7 separate regions of the Homo sapiens genome follow, and all the other regions are linked to region 4. Evidence: promoter capture Hi-C in 16 types of primary human blood cells and fetal thymus (Javierre and others, 2016). All regions are on one chromosome and are shown on one strand. Each heading gives the region's core, a stretch centred on a gene start or on the middle of the fragment in contact. The rest is flanking DNA. Distances are from core to core; before and after follow the strand shown.

Region 1 (2,700 bases), core at 22-2,521, 1.9 Mb before region 4:
ATTGATAACATAAAAAACCTCTGCACTTTTACTCCACCTCTCCACATTTTGCTTTTGATTTTGCAACGTATATCTTTTTATACTGCATATCCCTTAACAAGTTATTGTAGCTATTATTATTTTTAATAGTTTTGTCTGTTAACTTTCATACTAAAGATATAAGTGATTTAATCACCATGACAGTATTAGAATATTCTGAATTTGACTGTATACATTTTTTTTTCAGCTCTAAAATTTCTGTTTGATTTTTTAAATAATAATTCCAATCTTTCTGTTACATTTCTCATTTTGGTCATTTATTATTTTCTTGATTTCATTGAATTGTTTCTCTGAATTTTCCTGAAGTCCACTGAGTTTCCCTAAAACAATAATTTTGGATTCGTTGTGAAGAAGGGTCAGTTACTGGTGATTTGTTTCTTTAGTAGTGACGTGTTTCTCTGATTATTCTTGGTCTTTGTGGCCATGTGTTGGTATGTGTGTGTTTGAAGAAGTAAGGACTTACTCCAGTCTTTGCAGACTGGCTTTGTCTGGGAAAGCCCTTCACCAGTAAGCTCATCCAGAGGTTCTAGACAGGCCATCTGTTGTGGTGCATGGCAGGCTTGCTGCTGGAGTCCTTGGGTAGGCTGGCCTGGTGCCTAGGTTCGTAGGGTTGTTCCTGGAGCCTGATCCACTGGGGTGGACCTGCTGATTAGCTCTATAGGGGTGGGCCTGGATCCTTAGGGTTCCAACTTGAAGCCTAAGTCTGCAGGGGTTGGTCTGGCACTGGGGTGAGCCTTGAGCCTGAGTCTGCAGTGTCTGGCCAGGTTCCAAGGTGGGCCTGGTGCTTGGAACCCCTGGGGTGGACCTGGAGCCAGAGTATGTGGGGGTGGGCCTGGGTCCTGGTTGTACTGTGACTAGCCTGGAGCCTGAGTCTGCAGGAGTGGTCCTGCAGCCTCCGTCCATGGGGGCCAATCTGGCAATGCAATCTACTGGGGTGGTCCCAGACTCTGGGTCTGCTGGAACATACCTAGACCCTGACTCACCACAGGGATTTGTCTGGGGCCAGCTTGGTGCTGGGGCAAGTGTGCAGCCTGGGGTCACAGGGGCCAGACTGGAGCCTGAGATTATAGGTGCTGGCCTGGTAACTTGGGCTACATGGGGCTGGCCTGGGTCCTACGGCAATAGTGGCTAGCCTGGAACTTGAGTCCACAGGGATGGTCCTGGAGCCTGTGTTTATGGGTGTCAGCCCAACAGAAGGGCCTACTGGGATGGGCCTAAACCCTACTTCCACTAGGGTATGGGCTGCAGGAGCCAGACTGGGGCCACAGGAGCTGACTTGGCACTGGTCAGGCCTGGAACCTATATCTGCAGGAGCTGACCTGGTGCTGGGGTGGGCCTGAACCTTGGGCCCATGGAGGCTAGCCCTGTGCTGGGATTGGTCCAGAACCTAGGGCCACTGGGGCTGGCCTGTCCCTAGAGCAGACCTGGAGACAATCTATGCAGTCTTGCCTGGTGCTGGGACTGTCCTGAGCCTTGAGCTGGTCTGGAACCTACGGTCCCAGTGGGACAAGCCTAGAACTCAGGACTGGGTGATCCAGCCTAGTGCCAGGATGGGCCTAAAGGCTTCGCCTGCAGGTGTCAGCCTGGAGTCTGGGCTGAGGGGGCTTGCTCAGCACTGAGTTCTGCTGGGGTGGGCCTGGTGTTGTGGTCCAAGGCAAAGTCCTGTGCTCACTGCCTCTCCTTCGCCCACCTGGAGGGTATCTCTCTCCATGCTGTGCTGCCTGGAGTTGGGGGAAGGGTGACATGAGTTCTGTAAAACTGTCCTTCTTACCCTCTTCAGTGTGTTTTTTCTTACTTTTGTGCTAAACCCAGTGCTGTAATTTCTCACCTGGTCTCCTTAGCTCTTGAGAATGTATTTTCGTGCGTGAATAGTTTTTCAAATGGATGTTTCTGTGGGAGGATCAGTGCTGGAAAGTCCTATTCCCCCATCTTGCTGTTGTCCCACCTTTTTCTCCTTTATGTATGATAATCTAGGGTTGACTGTAACTGATTGTCTACAATATATATTTTAGCAATTTGGATATTCATGTCAGCTGGAGACTGCTCAATGAGATAACAACTAATATTTATTGTGTACTTCCTCTGTGCTGGGCATCATACTAAGTGCTTTATGTGTATTTAATTATCGCAGTCAGTCCTTTGAGAGAGGTTTAGTTATCCCACTCATACAGATACAGAAACTAAGATGTAGAGAAGTTTAAATCATTTGCTTAGTCATTCATTCATTCAACATATCTTTGCATGCCCCCAGTAGTTGTAGCTGCATTAGCTGCACATACACAGATAGAAAGTAGCAGAACTGGATTCCCACTGATTTTTTAACTGGAAAAGTCAATATCTCATTGCTTTCTTACATTGCACTGCTTTATCTGATTAAGAAGCATGCTTATGTCAACTTCAAGTGAGAGAGTGCAGTACAAGTACCTTCTTATAGCTATATTAAAATCTATTTTTAGACTCATTCACTTCTTTGCTATGCTATGTCTGTTTGATGTAATATATTTTTATGTCAATTCCAAAGATACATGTATTCAAATGTAAGGTGCCATTTTCTCCCAAGGTAAAGTCACTTTGGTGTTTTGAAATGTTTTTGTTAATAGTGCCTAATAGGCCTCTAGTCCTTATTTATTTAAAGCCTCAAACAAGAACCAACTGACTGTT
Region 2 (2,700 bases), core at 83-2,582, 1.6 Mb before region 4:
ACTGTGATATTTATACTTTGGATAAATTAACTCTGAAATTTCCTTGTTGGTTGGCATCACTTGGACTTTTACTGTGCTCCTGGGATTGGTTACAGTGAGTTTAATACATCTAGAGCACTGCCAAAGCATTATAGCAAAATATCAGAGTATCCCTGACAGTATTCTGGAAAGCAGACTATGCAAAATGCAAAAGTCTCCCTATTTAATTATGAACTTGACATTGCAATGAATTAGAGAATCAGCATTTATGGATAATCAAATATATATATTGAGTGCTCACTGCTTTGGGTGTTTTGTTTGCTTGTTTGTTTGTTTCCGGTGGGGTTGGAAGCTTTGGTTTTAAGGAGATGAAAACTAAAGAAAGTTCCAAATGCTTGGAGATCAGAAAATTGATCCAGTTTTCAAACACCAGGTACAAAGATGAGGGTAGGAGTTAGCTTTTGCAAATAGGTAGATTCTGCAAAGTACATCACAGTGGACTTCATATTGATCCTGAGGTTTGTGAGAACTTAAACAGGGAAGAAATTAGGAACTAAGGGGGAGACAGGAGAGACAAGACAGACAGAAAAATACACAGAGGGAATTTTCTTTCTTTCTTTCTTTCTCTCTTTCTTTCTTTTTTTTTGAGACAAAGTCTCACTCTGTTGCCCAGGCTGGAGTGCAGTGGCCTGATCTCGGCTCACTGCAAGCTCTGCCTCCTGGGGTTCACGCCATTCTCCTGCCTCAGCCTCCCGAGTAGCTGGGACTACAGGCGCCTGCCACCACACCCGGCTAATTTTTTGTATTTTTAGTAGAGACGGGGTTTCACCATGTTAGCCAGGATGGTCTCCATCTCCTGACCTCGTGATCCGCCCACCTTGGCCTCCCAAAGTGCTGGGATTATAGGCGTGAAACACTGAGCCCAGCCTCTTTGTTTCTTTCTCTCTCTCTTTCTTTCTTTCTCTCTCTCTCGCTCTCTCTTTTTCTTTTTCTTTCTTTCTTTCTTCTTTCTTTCTTTTCTTTCTTTCTTTCTTTTTCTTTCTTTCCCCCTCTCTCTCCCTTCCTTCCTTTCTTCCTCCTTTCCTTCTTTTCTTTTCTTTTGTCTTACTCTTTTGCCCAGGATGGAGTGCAGTGGTGCTATCACAACTCATTGTAACCTCAAACTTCTCAGCTCAAGTGATCCTCCCTCCTCAGCCTCCCAAGTAGCTAGAACTACAAGTCTGTACCACCACACCTAGCTAATTTAATTTTTTTTTTTTTTGAGATGGAGTCTCACTCTTATCACCCAGGCTAGAGTACAATGGCACAATCTCGACTCACTGCAACCTCCCCCTCCCGGGTTCAAGCGATTCTCAAGCCTCAGCCTCCTGAGTAGCTCGGATTACAGGCATGCGCCACCAGGCCTGGCTAATTTTTTTATTTTTAGTAGAGACGAGGTTTCGCCATGTTGGCCAGGCTGGTCCGTCTTGAACTCCTGATCTCAGGTGATCCACCCGCCTTGGCCTCCCAAAGTGCTGGGATTACAGGCGTGAGCCACTGCACGCGGCTAATTTTTTTTCTTTTCATAGAGATGGGTCTCACGATGTGCCCAGGCCAGTCTTAAACTCCTGGGCTCAAGCGACCCTCCAACCTTGGCCTCCCAAAGCACTGGGATTACAGGCATGAGCCAAAGCCATTGGTGAGAATATTTTCTTTTTGAGCAAACCTGAAACTTTACAAAAATGGACAATGTGCTAGGCAACGAAGGAAGAGTCAATGAATTCCAAGGAGTTTTACTATTATACAAGCTATGTTCTCTTACCTTATTTTGGTCAGGGTAATTATTTGTAGATTAAGGAATCTATTCACTGATTTAAACAGAAAGGGATTAAGTTGGCCTACCCATAAGCCCTCAGGAGGTCTGAACAAAGAGCCTTTACCTATGACAGTATTCTAGATAGAGACTACTAGGTTGAATTTGTAAGATCAGGTCCTAATACTCCACTGAACTAAGCTGTCAAGGGAGCTACTGACGCTGCCGGGATCAGAAAGAGCAGGATCAGGATGCTTTCTACAGAGGCAGGAAGCTGCTTCCAACTGCACCACACCTGCCTTGACTCACTCACTCCAGCCAAAACAGGCGCCCTTTGCACTGCCTCTCTCTCTCCATGTAGCTTACTTCCAGGTTGAAATCTTCTGTGAATTCACCTGATTAGGAGAACTTCAACCACACCTAGAACCCTGGCTTCAAGGATATGCCAATAATCAATTGTTGCCTCTCAGTTCCAAATTCACTCCTTCAGAACTTGCTGTGTATTAATGAATTGGACTTCTTTTGAAGCGTTTCTTTTGCAGTGAGTGTGATGTGAAGCTTTGCCAGTAGAGGGCGATGAAGGAATGTTGCAGGAAGAAGGTGGCATCACCCCCCGCCCCAACTCTTTCCATATTTGCTCCCCTCCCTTCCTCCGTCCTTTTAAAAATATTTATTTATTTGGCATAAAATTTTTTTACTGCTCTTTGTGGAGCAGGGCTACCCCATGGTGTGCCCATTTATTTTTTATTTATTTATTTTTTTAGAGACAGGGTCTCACTATGCTGCCCAGGCTGATCTCAAACTCCTGGGCTCAAGTGATCCTCCCACCTTGGCCTCCCAAAGTGTGCTGGGATTACAGGCATGAGGCATTGTTCCTGGGTTTTTTGTTTGTTTGTTTTGTTGTTGTTATTGTTTGTTTGTTTGTTTTT
Region 3 (2,700 bases), core at 154-2,653, 1.7 Mb after region 4:
ATCAGGAGTTCGAGACCAGCCTGACCAACATGGTGGAAGCCCCTCTCTACTGAAAATACAAAAGTTAGCCGTGCCTGGTGGCATGCGCCTGTAATCCCAGCTACTTGGGAGGCTGAGGTGGGAGAATCCCTTGAACCCGGGAGGCGGAGGTTGCAGTGAGCTGAGATGGCACCATTGCACTCCAGCCTGGGCAACAGAACGAGACTCGGTCTCTCAAAAAAAAAAAAAGTTTAGCTCCCTTAAGCCATTTCTGATAATTTATTCTAAAGATAAAATCAAATGTGGAATTCATTTATAAAGGTATTTATTGCTTCATTTATAATGGTGAAAAAAATAAAAAATCTCTATCTCCAATAGTAAGGAATTGGTTGTTTATGATATATCCATATGACAAAATAATGCACAGTAGTAAAAAATCATGTTTTGACATTTAAGAATATGAGGCTGGCTTGGTGGCTGTCACCTATAATCCCAGTACTTTGGAAGGCTGAGGTGGGAGGATCCCTTGAGCTCAGGAGTTTGAGACCAGCCTGGGCAACATAGGGAGACCCCAGTCTCTACTAAAAATAACCAAAAATTAGGTGGGGCCGGGCACGGTGGCTCACGTCTGTAATCCCAGCACTTTGGGAGGCCGAGGCGGGCGGATCACCCAAGGTCAGGGGTTCAAGACCAGCCTGGCCAACGTGGCGAAACCCTGTCTCTACTAAAAATACAGTAATTATCCAGGTGTGGTGGTGGGCACCTGTAATCCCCAGCTACTTGGGAGGCTGAGGCAGAAGAATCACCTGAACCTGGGAGGCGGAGGTTGCAGTGAGCCAAGATCTCGCCATTGCACTCCAGCCTGGGCAAGAGCGGAACTCAGTCTCAAAAAAAAAGAAAAAAAAAAAATTAGCTGGCATGCTGGTGTGCTCCTGTACTCCCAGCTATTGGGGAGGCAAAAAAAAAAAAAAAAAAAAGAAAAGAAAAGAAAAAAAATAATATACATCAAAGTGGAGTACTTTCTCTTGGATAGTGAGGCACAGGTGATTCTTATTTTCTTTTTATTTATATGTCTGTATTTCCCTAGATTTCCACAATGAACACATATGATTTTAAAACCATATTTTTCTTTTTAAGTGAGAGTGCTAAGTTGGAGAACCATTTGGCTTATCAGAATTCAGGTCTGCATTTCAATTCTGCGTGTCCAAAAGCTCAATTTTATTAGTTCGTCCAGAATACATCGCTCTGTAAACCAAGAGAATCGGAGACAGGTCTCAATCAATTTAGAAAGTTTATTTTGCCAAGGTTAAGGACACACCCATGACACAGCCTCAGGAGGTCCTGACGACATGTGCCCAAGGTTGTGTGGCACAGCTTGGTTTTATACATTTTAGGGAGACATGAGACATCAATCAATATGTTTAAGATGTACAATGGTCCCATCCAGAAAGGCGGGACAGCTATTAATACAAGTGGGGGTTGGGGGGCTCCGGGGTGTTCCAGGTCATAGGTAGATAAAAGACCAATGGTTGCATTCTTTTGAGTTGCTGATTAGCCTTTCACTGAATACACTATTTACAGGAATAGTCACTTATGTTAGTCTGGCTTAGGGAAACAAAAGGGCAATCAGATATGCATTTATCTCATATGAGCAGAGGGATGACTTTTTAAATCTCTATCTGTCCTTTGTCCACAAGGAATTTCTTTGTGGTCAAATTGTGAGGGAGGTATATATAGCTTTTTTATCTTAGTAGCTATCTTTTTTTTTAGGAGTAGAATGGGAGGCAGGTTTGCCCTAAGCAGTTCCCAGCTTGACTTTCCCTTTGGCTTAGTCATTTTTGGGGTCCTGATGTTAGAGGGGTTTGAATCACAGCACCTCCATGTTGAAAAAAGGGTGGGTAAGGCCGTGCACGGTGGCCCATGCCTGTAATCCCAGCACTTTGGGAGGCCAAGGTGGGTGGATCACCTGAGGTCGGGAGTTTGAGACCAGCCTGATCAACATGGAGAAACCCTGTCTCTACTAAAAATACAAAATTAGCTGGGCGTGGTGGCACATGCCTGTAATCCCAGCTACTCAGGAGGCTGAGGCAGAAGAATCGCTTGAACCCGGGAGGCGGAGGTTGTAGTGAGCCAAGATCGCGCCATTGCAGTCCAGCCTGGACAACGAGCAAAACTCCGTCTCAAAAAAAAAAAAAAAAAAAAAAGAAAAGACCTACTGGGCTGCATTCCCAGACAGTTAAGGCATTTTAAGTCACAAGACGAGATAGGAGGTCGGCAGAAGATACAGGTCATAGGCCGGGCACGGTGGCTCACGCCTGTAATCCCAGCACTTTGGGAGGCCAAGGCAGGTGGATCACGAGGTCAGGAGTTCGAGACCAGCCTGACCAACATGGTGAAACCCTGTCTCTACTAAAAATACAAAAATTAGCTGGGCGTGGTGGCGCGTGCCTGTAGTCCCAGCTACTCAGGAGGCTGAGGCAGAAGAATTGCTTGAACCTGGGAGGTGGAGGTTGCAGTGAGCTGAGATTGCACCACTGCACTCCAGCCTGGGCGAGAGTGAGACTCTGTCTCAAAAAAAAAAAAAAAAAAAAAAAAAAAGACACAGGTCATAAAGACCTTGCTGGTGAAACAGGTTGCAGTAGCCTGCCAAAACCCACCAAAACCAAGATGGCGATGAGAGTGACCTCTGGTTGTCCTCACTGCTACACTCCCACCAGCACC
Region 4 (2,700 bases), core at 91-2,590:
TCCAGACCAGCATGGCCAAAATGGTGAAACCCCCGTCTCTACTAAAAATACAAAACTTAGCCAGGCGTGGTGGTGCGCAACTGTAGTCCCAGCTACTTGGGAGGCTGAGGCATGAGAATGGCTTGAACCCGGGAGGCAGAGGTTGCAGCGAGCCGAGATCGTGCCACTGCACTCCAGCCTGGACAAGAGAGCCAGACTCCCTCTCCAAAAAAAAAAAAAAAAATTGCTTTGTCAGCTGGGTGTAGGGCTCACGCCCCTAATACCAGCACTTTGGGAGGCCAACGCGGGTAGACTGCTTGAGGCCAGGGGCTCGAGACCGGCCTGGCCAACATGATGAAACCCCGTCTCTAACAAAAATACAAAAAATTCGCTGGGAGTGGTGGTGCACGCCTATAATCCCAGCTACTCTGGAGGCTGAGGCGGGAGAATCACTTGAATTCAGGCTGCAGTGAGCTGAGATCGCACCACGGCACTCCAGCCTCGGTGACAATGATAATGATACACATTGCCAAAACGTTTTCCAGAAAGATTGTAACAATTTACATTCCTACTCAGTTTGATTTCCCTCTTTCATTTCTGTTTCAAAAGAAATGAAAAAGAAGGAAAGGAGGGAGGAAGGAAAGAATTTTTTTTAATGCTCTGTTAATTTGATAAAGGAAAGGCGTGTCTTTAGGTTTGCTTATTTATTCAAACATATATTTTATGACTATACATGTTATGAATGCCATTGTATTAACAGTACTTCTGTTTAATTGACCTTACCAACTAGGTCGGCCAGTAGGCCAAAGTCTTCAAAGCCTCTAGATCCTAAGACCGTGATTTTTAGACTTTTGGAGGGTCATAGAACCCTTTGAGAATCTAATGAAACCTATAATCTTGTACCCAGGAAAATCCGCATACACCCAAACACCGTGCCCATAGTTTCCAAAGGCTGATGAACTTTACGGACCCTTCTGTCAGGAACGCATCTCTATAAGCCTATTTTCTTTGGCTATTTCCTGTTACGAAATAAAACATATATCCCACTTCCGGGGCCTCGCAGCCCAAAACTAAAACCAAAATCAATTTCAATTCAAAGCATCACAATCACCCACCCAGCTCCAACCAGGGAATCCCTCTGGCTAAGTCAGGGCCGCGCGGGGGTGTCTGCAGTTCATTGATGTCCGGAGATGAAACGTAGCACATGAAACCACTAGGCGTATATATCTTGTCCCTCGGAGAAAGAAAGTACTTACGACACATTTTCATGGCTGTAACCGATTTTGGCGTTGTAAGCTCCATTATCCAGCACTAAGGTCGTCATCTCACCACCAACCACACCGCAGCCGTAGTTGTTTTCCCTTTCCGACCCCTCTGCTCGAGCTTTTTCCGGTACTCTATGGTTTGTTGGGCGGAGCGTTAGGACGCGCCTCTGGTCACCTTAGCAACGGAGGACGCCGGAAGTCGGAGATGCTAAGCAGCACCGAATGTTAGGGGCTGTGCTTCCAAACTTAACCTGTTTATGTGGTGGCGAGATTTGACTACTATGTGCTTTCTCGCTCATTTCGTATTTGTTTTTAACTACGCAGATTAATTCGCGCAAGTTTTTTCTAATCCTGTAGAGAACCGGCTGCGTGTGTGTGTGTGTGTGTGTGTGTGTGTGTGTCTTCCAATCGCATTCTTCAGACGGTGACATTCTTTGAAGAAAAAAGTGCAAAACTTGCTCTTGGACTCACATTCATACTCTCCTCTTCCCCAGCCCACTTGCTCTTCAGGACGAAGCTGAGTGAGTCTTTCTCATCCAAAAAAGGCTTTTGGGCCGGACGCGGTGGCTCACGCCTGTAATCCCAGCACTTTAGGAGACCAAGGCAAGCAGATCACTTGAGGTCAGGAGCTTGAGACCAGCCTGACCAACACGGCGAAACCCCGTCTCTATTAAAAATACAAAAAGTAGCCGGGCGAGGTGGCGGGCGCCTGTAATCCCAAGTACTCGGGAGGCTGAGGCGGGAGAATTGCTTGAACCGGGGAGGCGGAGGTTGCAGTGAGCCGAGATGGCTCCACTACACTCCAGCCTGGGCGACAGAGCGAGACTCCGGCAGGGCGGGGACTTGGCAGGTGCGGGAGGCAGGACCTGGCTTCCGGGGCGTCGCGGGGGCAACGGCCAGCGGGCGGGGGCAAGGGCCAGCGGGCTAGGACAACTGCCAACGGGCTTGGAGGGGGGCGTTCTACAAATTCCAGGCCACTTTGAGCGCCTGAGAGAGGAGCGGGGCGGCGGGAAGGGGGCACCGCGGGGGCAGGGAGCGCAGCAGCCGCAGCGCGAAGGCGCGGGGGCCGGGGAACAAACGGTTGGCGCGCAGGCAGCCATACCGGGGCCGGAACCCGGGCAGAGGAGGGCAGCGACGGCGATGGGGAGGCTGCAGAGCCCGGGGCGGGTACCGCGCGGGAACCAGCGCGACTGCGTGGCTACCGCAGCCGTCGGTTCGTGTTGGACGGGCGCCGCTGCTGCCTCTGCTACTTCAAGAACCCCCACGACCCGCTGCCCCTCGGCCACCTGGACATAGCAGAAGCCTGCTTCAGCTACCAGCGCGCCGACGAGGCGGCGGAGCAGCCTGCGCACTTCCAGGTGCGCAGCGCGGGAGCCGCCACGGTGCTTGAGGTGGGAACTCGCGCCCTGCAAGCGCCTGGGCCCTTCTGTCGGCGCTCCTTGCCTCCCCTGGGGGC
Region 5 (2,700 bases), core at 110-2,609, 1.9 Mb before region 4:
ATGAAATACAGAATATTATATTGTTTGTTCTCATTACTTATTAAAACATTTACTGTGTATGCTTAGGAAGAAGAAGCAGACGTTGAAGGCATTCAGTATAAAACACTTCGAACATTTCACCATGGAGTCAGGGTTGATGGCATAGCTTGGAGCCCAGAGACTAGACTTGATTCATTGCCTCCAGTAATCAAGTAAGTTTAACAGTACCAAATGCATTCCTTACTAATGTACTTTGATTGTGTTACATGATTGGAAGTCTGATCATAGATACTTTTTTCTCAATTTCCATTTTCCACAATCCAAGATATTAGATATTTTGATATTTGCTACTACTTAATAATTTAGGCTTATCATCTGAATTTGTGATTTAAATATACAGCCATGACTATGATGCCTTGACCATGTGTTTGAGCCAAACTACAAAACCTTTTACGTGAGATTCATCTGAATCAAGGTCTTTACAGATTGTTCACTGAATTTACAACTTTATTGAAAGTATAACTTAAAATAACTAAATTTGGTTGAGACATTAATGAGCTTTCCTTCCCCACCCATAGGCCAAGATCACATTTTTTTGTCCAACAGTATATAAATCTGTAAGTTCTGGTCCTGGACTTCAGTTTTTGTGAAAGTGTTTAAAAGGAATGATGGTTTTCTGAGAAAAAAATCCTAGCAATGCCTGCTGAAGCCCTCTTTACAGGGGCAAGAATATGTTAGGTTATTTAAGATCTGTTACAAAACACTAGCCTTGCCTTCTACAAATGTCAAATCTAAAAGATGTGTCTTCTTTTAGTAGACAGTACTTAGGAACTAAAAGTTATCAACTATTAAGCTAACTTCGTTTTTTTTAAATTAAGGGATAATTTAGATACTCTGAAATTCTCAGCTCTTAAGGGTATAGTTTGATCAGTTTTGACAAATACGTATATTTGTACAACCCACACCCTATTCATGCACTGTTTCTGTCACCCAAGAAAGTTTCGTCATACTTCTTCCCAGTTAATCATTGTACCCCACTCCCTGCAGAAGCAACCATTGATCTGATTTCTATTACCAGAAATCAGTTTTGCCTATTCTAGAACTTCATATAAGTGGGATCATACAGAATGTCTTTTGTGTCTGGCTTGTTTTTGCAATTTTTCCACATTGTTATGTATACCAGTGCTTTTTAAGTAGTACTCCATTACAGTGTATCAATAGACCATAGTCTGTTTATTCATTCTTCTGTAAATAGGTACCAATACAGTTTCTAGGCTTTAGTTATTATTTTTTGCTGAATACTGCTTTGGGTGGTTATATGATTTAATTTAGGAGTAGAATTGCTGAGTCACAGGGTAGATGTATGTTTAACATTTTAAGAAAATGCCAGTTTCTAAAGTGGTTCTACCATTTTGTCTTTTCCCCAATAATCTAAGGGTGGTCTTCCTACTCTCCAACACTCATTCATTCATTTTGAGACAAGGTCTGGCTCTATTGCCCAGGCTGGAGTACAGTGGCACCATCTCCACTCACTGCAATCTCTGCTTCCCAGGCTCAAGCCGTCTTCCCACCTCAGCCTCCTCCTGAGTAGCTGGGACTATAGGCGCCCATCATCATGCCTGGCTAATTTTGGTATTTTTTGTAGGGACAGGGATTTGCCTGTTGCCCAGGCTGGCCTCAAACTCCTGAGCTCAGGCAATCCATGTGCCTTGGCCTCCCAAAGTGCTGGGATGACAGCATGAGCCACCATACCTGGCCTATTCTCCAATATTTGCTATTGTCAATCTTTCTTTTTTTTTTTTTTATTTTTTTGGTACATGGTCTCACTCTATCTCCCAGGCTGACAGCCAGACCCATAATCACAGCTTACTGCAGCCTCAACCTCCCTTGGCTCAGCCTCAACCCTCCCTCTCACCTCCGCCTCCCAAGTAGCTGGAACTACAGGCATGCACCACCACTCCCGGCTAATTTTTTGTATTTTTTGCAGTGATGGGGTTTCGCCATGTTGCCCAGGCTGGTCTCGAGCACCCAGGCTCGAGCAATTCACCTACCTTGACCTCCCAAAGTGTTAGGATTACAGGCATGAGCCACTGTGCCCAGCCTGTCTTTTTAATTTTAGCCATTCTGGTTGATGCCACAATGACATTTCCATGATGAGTGATAATGCTGACGCTTTTTTGGTATATTTGTTTCTTCTATTAGAAATCTTTGTGTGATTTCTTATAGGTTGTGAAGATGTTGCATGTTTTTTCCTAGAAGCCTTTACCGATATTTAGCTAACTTAATTGAATAATCTACACAATAGCTTTTGTCAGCACACGTAATGTCATTGCCAACAGCTGGTGTGCTGTTGATTTCCTTTTATATTAAAAGAAAGTGGTCACAATATCTAGACCTAAACAAGAACAAGTCTCTTTGATTCTTTAAATTTTTAAAGCTGTGGAAACAGTCTTCTTCCCTTGGTTTTAAGTTTTGTGATACCTCTTTAATCTACATATTCAGCTGTTGTATTCTATGCTTTCCTTGTTGCTTAGTACTTGTTTTCCTGTCCTCTTTTTAGTGAATTTGCTGTGTTTCATCATTTCTGGTTGGTGTTTTTGTTTGGTTGGATTTTTCTTATTTTTTGGTAAACTGTCTCAAGACCTTTTTGGAACTATACAAATTCAGTAACAAATTCAAAAGACATTAGCAGGCCATTAATTTTAGACTATTTTTAGAGCA
Region 6 (2,700 bases), core at 193-2,692, 1.6 Mb after region 4:
AGACATCACACTACCCGATCTCAAAATATATTACAAAGCTGTAGTAATCCAAACAGCGTGATACTAGCATTTAAAAAAAAAACATAGACTAATGGAACAGAGAGCCCAGAAATACTTCTACAAGTGTATGTTCAAATGATTCTCATCCAAGTTGCCAAGAACACACAAAAGGGAAAGGACATCTCTTTAATAAATGCTGTTGAGAAAACTGGATATCCTATGCAGAAGAATGAAACTGGACCCTTATATCAAACCATATACAAAAACCAATTCAAAATGAATTAAAGACTTAAATGTAACACCAGAAATTGAAAACCGCTGGAAGAAAACATGAGGAAAAAGCTTCTTGACGTTAGTCTTGGGAAAGATTTTTTTGAATAGAACCTGAAAAGAACAAGCAACAAAAGCAAAAATAGATAAATATGATTGTGTCAAACTAAAATCTTCTGTACAGAAAAGGAAACAGTCAACAGAGTGAAGAGACAACCTATAGAATGGGAGAAAATACTCATGAACCATAAATCTGAGAATGGCTTAATATCCAAAATATATAAGGAACTCAACTCAATAGCAAAAAAAAACCCAATTAAACAATGGGCTATGGACATGAATAGACATTTCTCAAAAGAAGACATAGTAATGGCCAACAGGTATATGGAAAAAAATGCTCAACATCACTAATTATCAGGGAAATGAAAAATTAAAACCACAATGAGATATCAACTCACACCTGTTAGAATATTTATTATCAAAAAGACAAAAGATAACAAGTGTTGGTGAGAATGTGGAGAAAAGGGAACCATCGTACACTGTGAGTGGGAAAGTATAGCCATTATGGAAAACAGTGTGGAGGTTCCTCAAAAAAAAAAAAACTAAGAATAATCATATGATCCAGCAATCCCACTTCTGGATATATATCCAAAAGAAATGAATCAGTATGTCAAGGAGTTTTCTGCACTCCCATATTCATTGCAGCATTACTCCCAATAGCCAAGATATGTAGAATCAACCTAAGTGTCAATCAACAGATGAATGATAAATAACACACACGCACACACACAAAATGCGGTTCTCCCTTTAAAAAGAAGGAAATCCTGTTATTTGTGACTACATGGATGAACCTAAACGATATTATGCTAAGTGGAATGAACCAGGCACAGAAAGACAAATACTGCATGATCTCAATTATATGTGGAATCTAGAAAAGTCAGACTCATAGAAGTACAGAGTAGAATGGTTACGAGGGATTGGAGGGGACAGGGTAGGACAATTGAGAGATGTTGATTAAAGAATACAAAGTTTCAGTTAAACAGGATGAATAAGTTCTGGAGATCTATTGTATAGTATGATGACTGTAAATAATAATAATATATACTTGAAAATTGCTAAGAGGCCGGGCGCGATGGCTCATGCCTTATAATCTTAGCACTTTGGGAGGTCGAGGCGGGCGAATCACTTGAGATTAGGAGTTTCAGACCAGCCTAGTCAACATGGTGAAACCCTGTCACTACTAAACAACAATCAGCCAGGCGTGGTGGCACACAACTGTGGTACCATCTACTCTGGAGACTGAGGCAGGAGAATCACTTGAACCCAGGAGGTAGAGGTTGCAGTCAGCAGAGATGGGGCTATTGCATTCCAGCCTGGGTACAGAGTGAGTGAGACTTCCATCTCCAAAAAAAAGAGAGAATTTCTAGGAGAGTAGATCTTAAATATTCTTACTACAAAAAAAAATACATGAGGTGATAGATATGTTCATTAGCTTGATTTAATCATTCACAATATGTGCGTAGATATGTATATCAAAATATTACATTGTACACAATAAATATATACAATTTTAATTTGTCAATTATACCTTAATAAAGCTGAAATAAAAAAGAACTTATGTTGCCTTGTCTCACCTAGCAAAGCTCAACTGGAGGAAACTTCCTTTTCCCTTCTCCAGCAACTGAAAAACCACATCACTGTCTCATGTAGCTCATTTTATTACTGTACAGAAGACCAATTGTGAAAATATTATAATGTAAAAAATGTAATTTCCAGGGACATTTCATGAAATTTTCTTAATGTTTCCTTCTTATTCATTAGTAATTCACTTACATTGTTCTAAATTCTCTTACTTCTGAAGTCGTCTTTTACCATATGCTTTCCAGAAGAACAGTAAAGTGTAGTTAAAAAATAACATAAGGCAGGGCGTGGTGGCTCACGCCTGTAATCCCAGGCATGGATTTAGGAGGCCGAGGTGGGCAGATAACCAGAGGTCAGGAGATCGAGACCAGCCTGTCCAACATGGTGAAGACCCGTCTCTACTAAAAATACAAAAAAAGTTAGCTGAGGTGGGGGCGGGTGCCTGTAATCCCAGCTACTTGGGAGGCTGAGTCAGGAAAATCGCTGGAACCCAGGAGGTGGAGGTTTCAGTGAGCCAAGATCGTGCCACTGCACTCCATCCTGGGTAACAGAACAAGCCTCTGTCTCAAAAAAAAAATTAAAATTAAAAAGAAATATAAAATTTAAGATGAATTTTAAATGGTAAGCTTCTAATACATTTAATCATTGTGATATTATATTTTCTTATAGTGGCAGAAATCTGAAGCTATCATGGAACAATTGAAGTCTTTTCAAATAATTGCTCATCTAAAGCGTCTACAGGAAGAAATTAATGAGGTAAAAACTTGGTCCAATAGGATAACTGAAAAA
Region 7 (2,700 bases), core at 200-2,699, 1.9 Mb before region 4:
GTCAGATGTATAGTTTGCAAAAATTTTCTCCTATGCTGTAGGTTGTCTGTTTACTCTGTTGATAGTTTTGTTTGCTGTGTAGAAGCTCTCTAGTTTAATTAGATCCCATTTGTCAATTTTTGCTTTTGTTGCAATTGCTTTTGGCATCTTCATCATGAAATCGTTGCCCATGCCTGTGTCCAGAATGGTATTGCCTAGGTTGTCTTCCAGGGTTTTTCCAGTTTTGGGTTTTATATGTAAGTCCCTCATCTTGAGTTGATTTTTGTATGTAGTTTAAGGAAGAGGTCCGGTTTCAATCTTCTGCACATGGTTAGCCAGTTATCCCAGCACTATTTATTGAATAGGGAATCCTTTCCCCATTGCTTGTTTTCATCAGCTTTGTTGAAGATCAGATGGTTGTTGGTGTGTGGTCTTATTTCTGGGCTCTGTATTCTGTTCCATTGGTCTATGTGTCTGTTTTTCTACCAATACCATGCTGTTTTGGTTACTGTAGCCCTTTAATACAGTTTGAAGTCAGGTAGCATGATACCACCTGCTTTCTTCTTTTTGCTTAGGATAGCCTTAGCTATTTGGGGTCTTTTTGGGTTCCATAGGAATTTTAAAAGAGCTTTTTCTAGCTCTGCAAAGAATGTCACTGGAAGTTTGACAGGATTAGCATTAAATATATAAATTGCTTTGGGCAGTAGTCAAGTCTAGAGGCAAATCAGGAATGCAACCTCATTCACAATTGCCATAAAAAGAATAAAATACCTGGAAATACAGTCAACCAGGGAGGTGAAAGATCTCTACAATGAAAACTACAAAACACTGCTCAAAGAAATCAGAGAAGGTACAAACAAATGGAAAAACATTCCAGGCTCATTGGCTAGAAGAATGAATATCAAAATGTATTAAAGGCTTAAATTTAACATTTGAAACTGCAAAAGTCCTAGAAAAAAACAGAGGAAAAACTCCATGACATTGGTCTGGGGAATGGTTTTTTGGACATAAACCCAGAAGCACAGAAAACAAAAGCAAAAATACATGAATGGGATTATATCAAACTAAAAACTTTCTGCACAGCCAAGGAAACAATCAGCAGAGTGAAGAGACAACCTATGGAATGGGAGAAAATATATCCAAATCATGTATCAGATAAAAGGTTAATATCCAAAATATATAAGAAACTCAATAAGAAAACAACCCCATTAAAAAAAAAATGGGCAAAAGAGCAGGATGCAGTGGCGTATGCCCACAGTCTCAATTACTTCAGAGGTTGAGGCAGGAGAATTCTTGAGCCTAGGAGTCCAAGTACAGCCTGGGCAACATATTGAGACTCTGTCTCTAAATAATAAAATGAATTTTAAAAATAATCGTTTTTTAAGAATTGGACAAAGGATCTGAATAGACATTTCCAAAAAGAAGACACACAAATTGCCAAGAGGTATATAAAAAATGCTCAACATTACTAATCATCAGAAAAATGCAAATGGAAACCAAAATAAATTATGACCTGTTAGAATGGCCATTATTGAAAAGATAAAAGTGTTAAAAAAAAATGTGAAGAAAAGGGAATCCTTTGTATACTGTTGGTGGAAATGTAATTAGTATAAGCATTACAGTATGAAAGTTTCTCAAAAAATAAAACTACCATATGATCCTGCAATCCCAATACTGGGTATATATCCAAAGGAAATGAAATCAGTAGTGAAGAGAGATCAGGACTCCTATGGCCATTGCTGCATTGTTCACAATAGCCAAGATATGGAATCAACCTAAGTATCCATCAATGGATGAATGGATAGAAAATGTGGTATATATACACAATGGAATGCTATTCAGCCCCATAAAAGAGAGAAATCCTGTCATTTGTAACAACATGGATGTACCTGGAAAACATTATATTAAGGAAAGTAAGACAGGCATAGAAAGACAAACACCACATAATCTCACTTACAAGTGGTGTGTTAAAAAGTTGAACTTACAGGCCGGGCACGGTGGCTCATGCCTGTAATCCCAGCACTTTGGGAGGCCGAGGTGGGCAGATCACGAGGTCAGGAAATCGAGACCATCCTGGCTAACACGGTGAAACCCCGTCTTTACTAAAAATACAAAAAATTAGCCGGGTGTGGTGGCGGGTGCCTGCAGTCCCAGCTACTAGGGAGGCAGAGGCAGAAAAATGGCGTGAACCCGGGAGGGGGAGCTTGCAGTGAGCTGAGATTGCACCACTGCACTCCAGCATGGGAGACAGAGTGAGACTCCATCAAAAAAACAAAAGAGGTGAACTTATAGAAGTAGAAAGACAATGATGGTTACTAGGGGATGTGGGGACACAGTGGGTGGGGTGGATGGGGAGATACTCATCAAAGTATATACAGTTTCTGTTAGGAGGAATAATTTCAAGAGATCTATTGTACAACATGGTGTTGCTAGTTAATAACACTGTTGTATCCTTGAAAACTGTTCAGAGAATACATTTTAATTGTTATCACCACAAAAATGTTAAGAATGTGAGGTAATGCATATTAATTTGCTCAGTTAAGCCATTTCACAATGTATACATATTTCAAAATATATTGTACATGATAAATAAATACAATTTTTTGTCAATTTAAAAAACTAATTTTTTTTAAAAATTAAGTGATTTGTCTAAGGCCACTCAGTCAAAAGGCTGAATTAGGCTGTGAACCCAAGCCAACTGACTCCCTAGCATTTACTCTT

Evidence for each region. Contacts are between HindIII fragments. The CHiCAGO score rates a contact against its expected background, and 5 or more counts as called.
Region 1: a contact is called between a fragment that was not itself captured here and the fragment with the promoter of ACTR6 in region 4, in 4 of 17 cell types (naive CD4 T cells, naive CD8 T cells, non-activated CD4 T cells and 1 more). The highest score is 11.2, in naive CD4 T cells.
Region 2: a contact is called between a fragment that was not itself captured here and the fragment with the promoter of ACTR6 in region 4, in 2 of 17 cell types (naive CD8 T cells and non-activated CD4 T cells). The highest score is 9.2, in naive CD8 T cells.
Region 3: a contact is called between a fragment that was not itself captured here and the fragment with the promoter of ACTR6 in region 4, in 5 of 17 cell types (total CD4 T cells, naive CD8 T cells, fetal thymus and 2 more). The highest score is 10.1, in total CD4 T cells.
Region 5: a fragment that was not itself captured here is called in contact with the fragment with the promoter of ACTR6 in region 4 in 1 of 17 cell types (neutrophils); the score reaches 5.8 in neutrophils.
Region 6: a fragment that was not itself captured here is called in contact with the fragment with the promoter of ACTR6 in region 4 in 1 of 17 cell types (total B cells); the score reaches 10.6 in total B cells.
Region 7: a contact is called between a fragment that was not itself captured here and the fragment with the promoter of ACTR6 in region 4, in 1 of 17 cell types (naive CD8 T cells). The highest score is 6.5, in naive CD8 T cells.

Annotation. Positions count from the first base shown.
Region 1 is chr12:102,051,298-102,053,997 of GRCh38, reverse strand. The region is part of intron 2 of WASHC3 (WASH complex subunit 3); the gene reads left to right. Among named protein-coding and RNA genes, the nearest start is that of WASHC3, 9.3 kb to the left of the region's middle. The HindIII fragment of the contact is 4,399 bases long and covers 1-2,700 here.
Region 2 is chr12:101,839,590-101,842,289 of GRCh38, reverse strand. No RefSeq gene overlaps it. Among named protein-coding and RNA genes, the nearest start is that of GNPTAB, 10 kb to the right of the region's middle. The HindIII fragment of the contact is 1,998 bases long and covers 334-2,331 here.
Region 3 is chr12:98,508,122-98,510,821 of GRCh38, reverse strand. No RefSeq gene overlaps it. Among named protein-coding and RNA genes, the nearest start is that of TRW-CCA4-1, 5.2 kb to the right of the region's middle. RefSeq lists an enhancer at 1,910-2,453. The HindIII fragment of the contact is 8,186 bases long and covers 1-2,700 here.
Region 4 is chr12:100,199,455-100,202,154 of GRCh38, reverse strand. ACTR6 (actin related protein 6) reads right to left here and starts at 1,340. Exons shown (of 11, transcript NM_022496.5): 1 at 1,236-1,340. The coding sequence starts at 1,303. RefSeq lists enhancers at 1-232, 1,077-1,276, 1,250-1,544 and a silencer at 2,037-2,396. The HindIII fragment of the contact is 11,223 bases long and covers 1-2,700 here.
Region 5 is chr12:102,109,599-102,112,298 of GRCh38, reverse strand. It overlaps NUP37 (nucleoporin 37), which reads left to right. Exons shown (of 10, transcript NM_024057.4): 3 at 67-191. Among named protein-coding and RNA genes, the nearest start is that of NUP37, 9.2 kb to the left of the region's middle. The HindIII fragment of the contact is 4,522 bases long and covers 1-2,700 here.
Region 6 is chr12:98,614,221-98,616,920 of GRCh38, reverse strand. It overlaps a transcript of IKBIP not described here. Among named protein-coding and RNA genes, the nearest start is that of SNORA53, 16 kb to the right of the region's middle. The HindIII fragment of the contact is 2,195 bases long and covers 345-2,539 here.
Region 7 is chr12:102,127,796-102,130,495 of GRCh38, reverse strand. All of the region lies in intron 2 of PARPBP (PARP1 binding protein), which reads right to left. Among named protein-coding and RNA genes, the nearest start is that of PARPBP, 9.0 kb to the right of the region's middle. The HindIII fragment of the contact is 9,864 bases long and covers 1-2,700 here.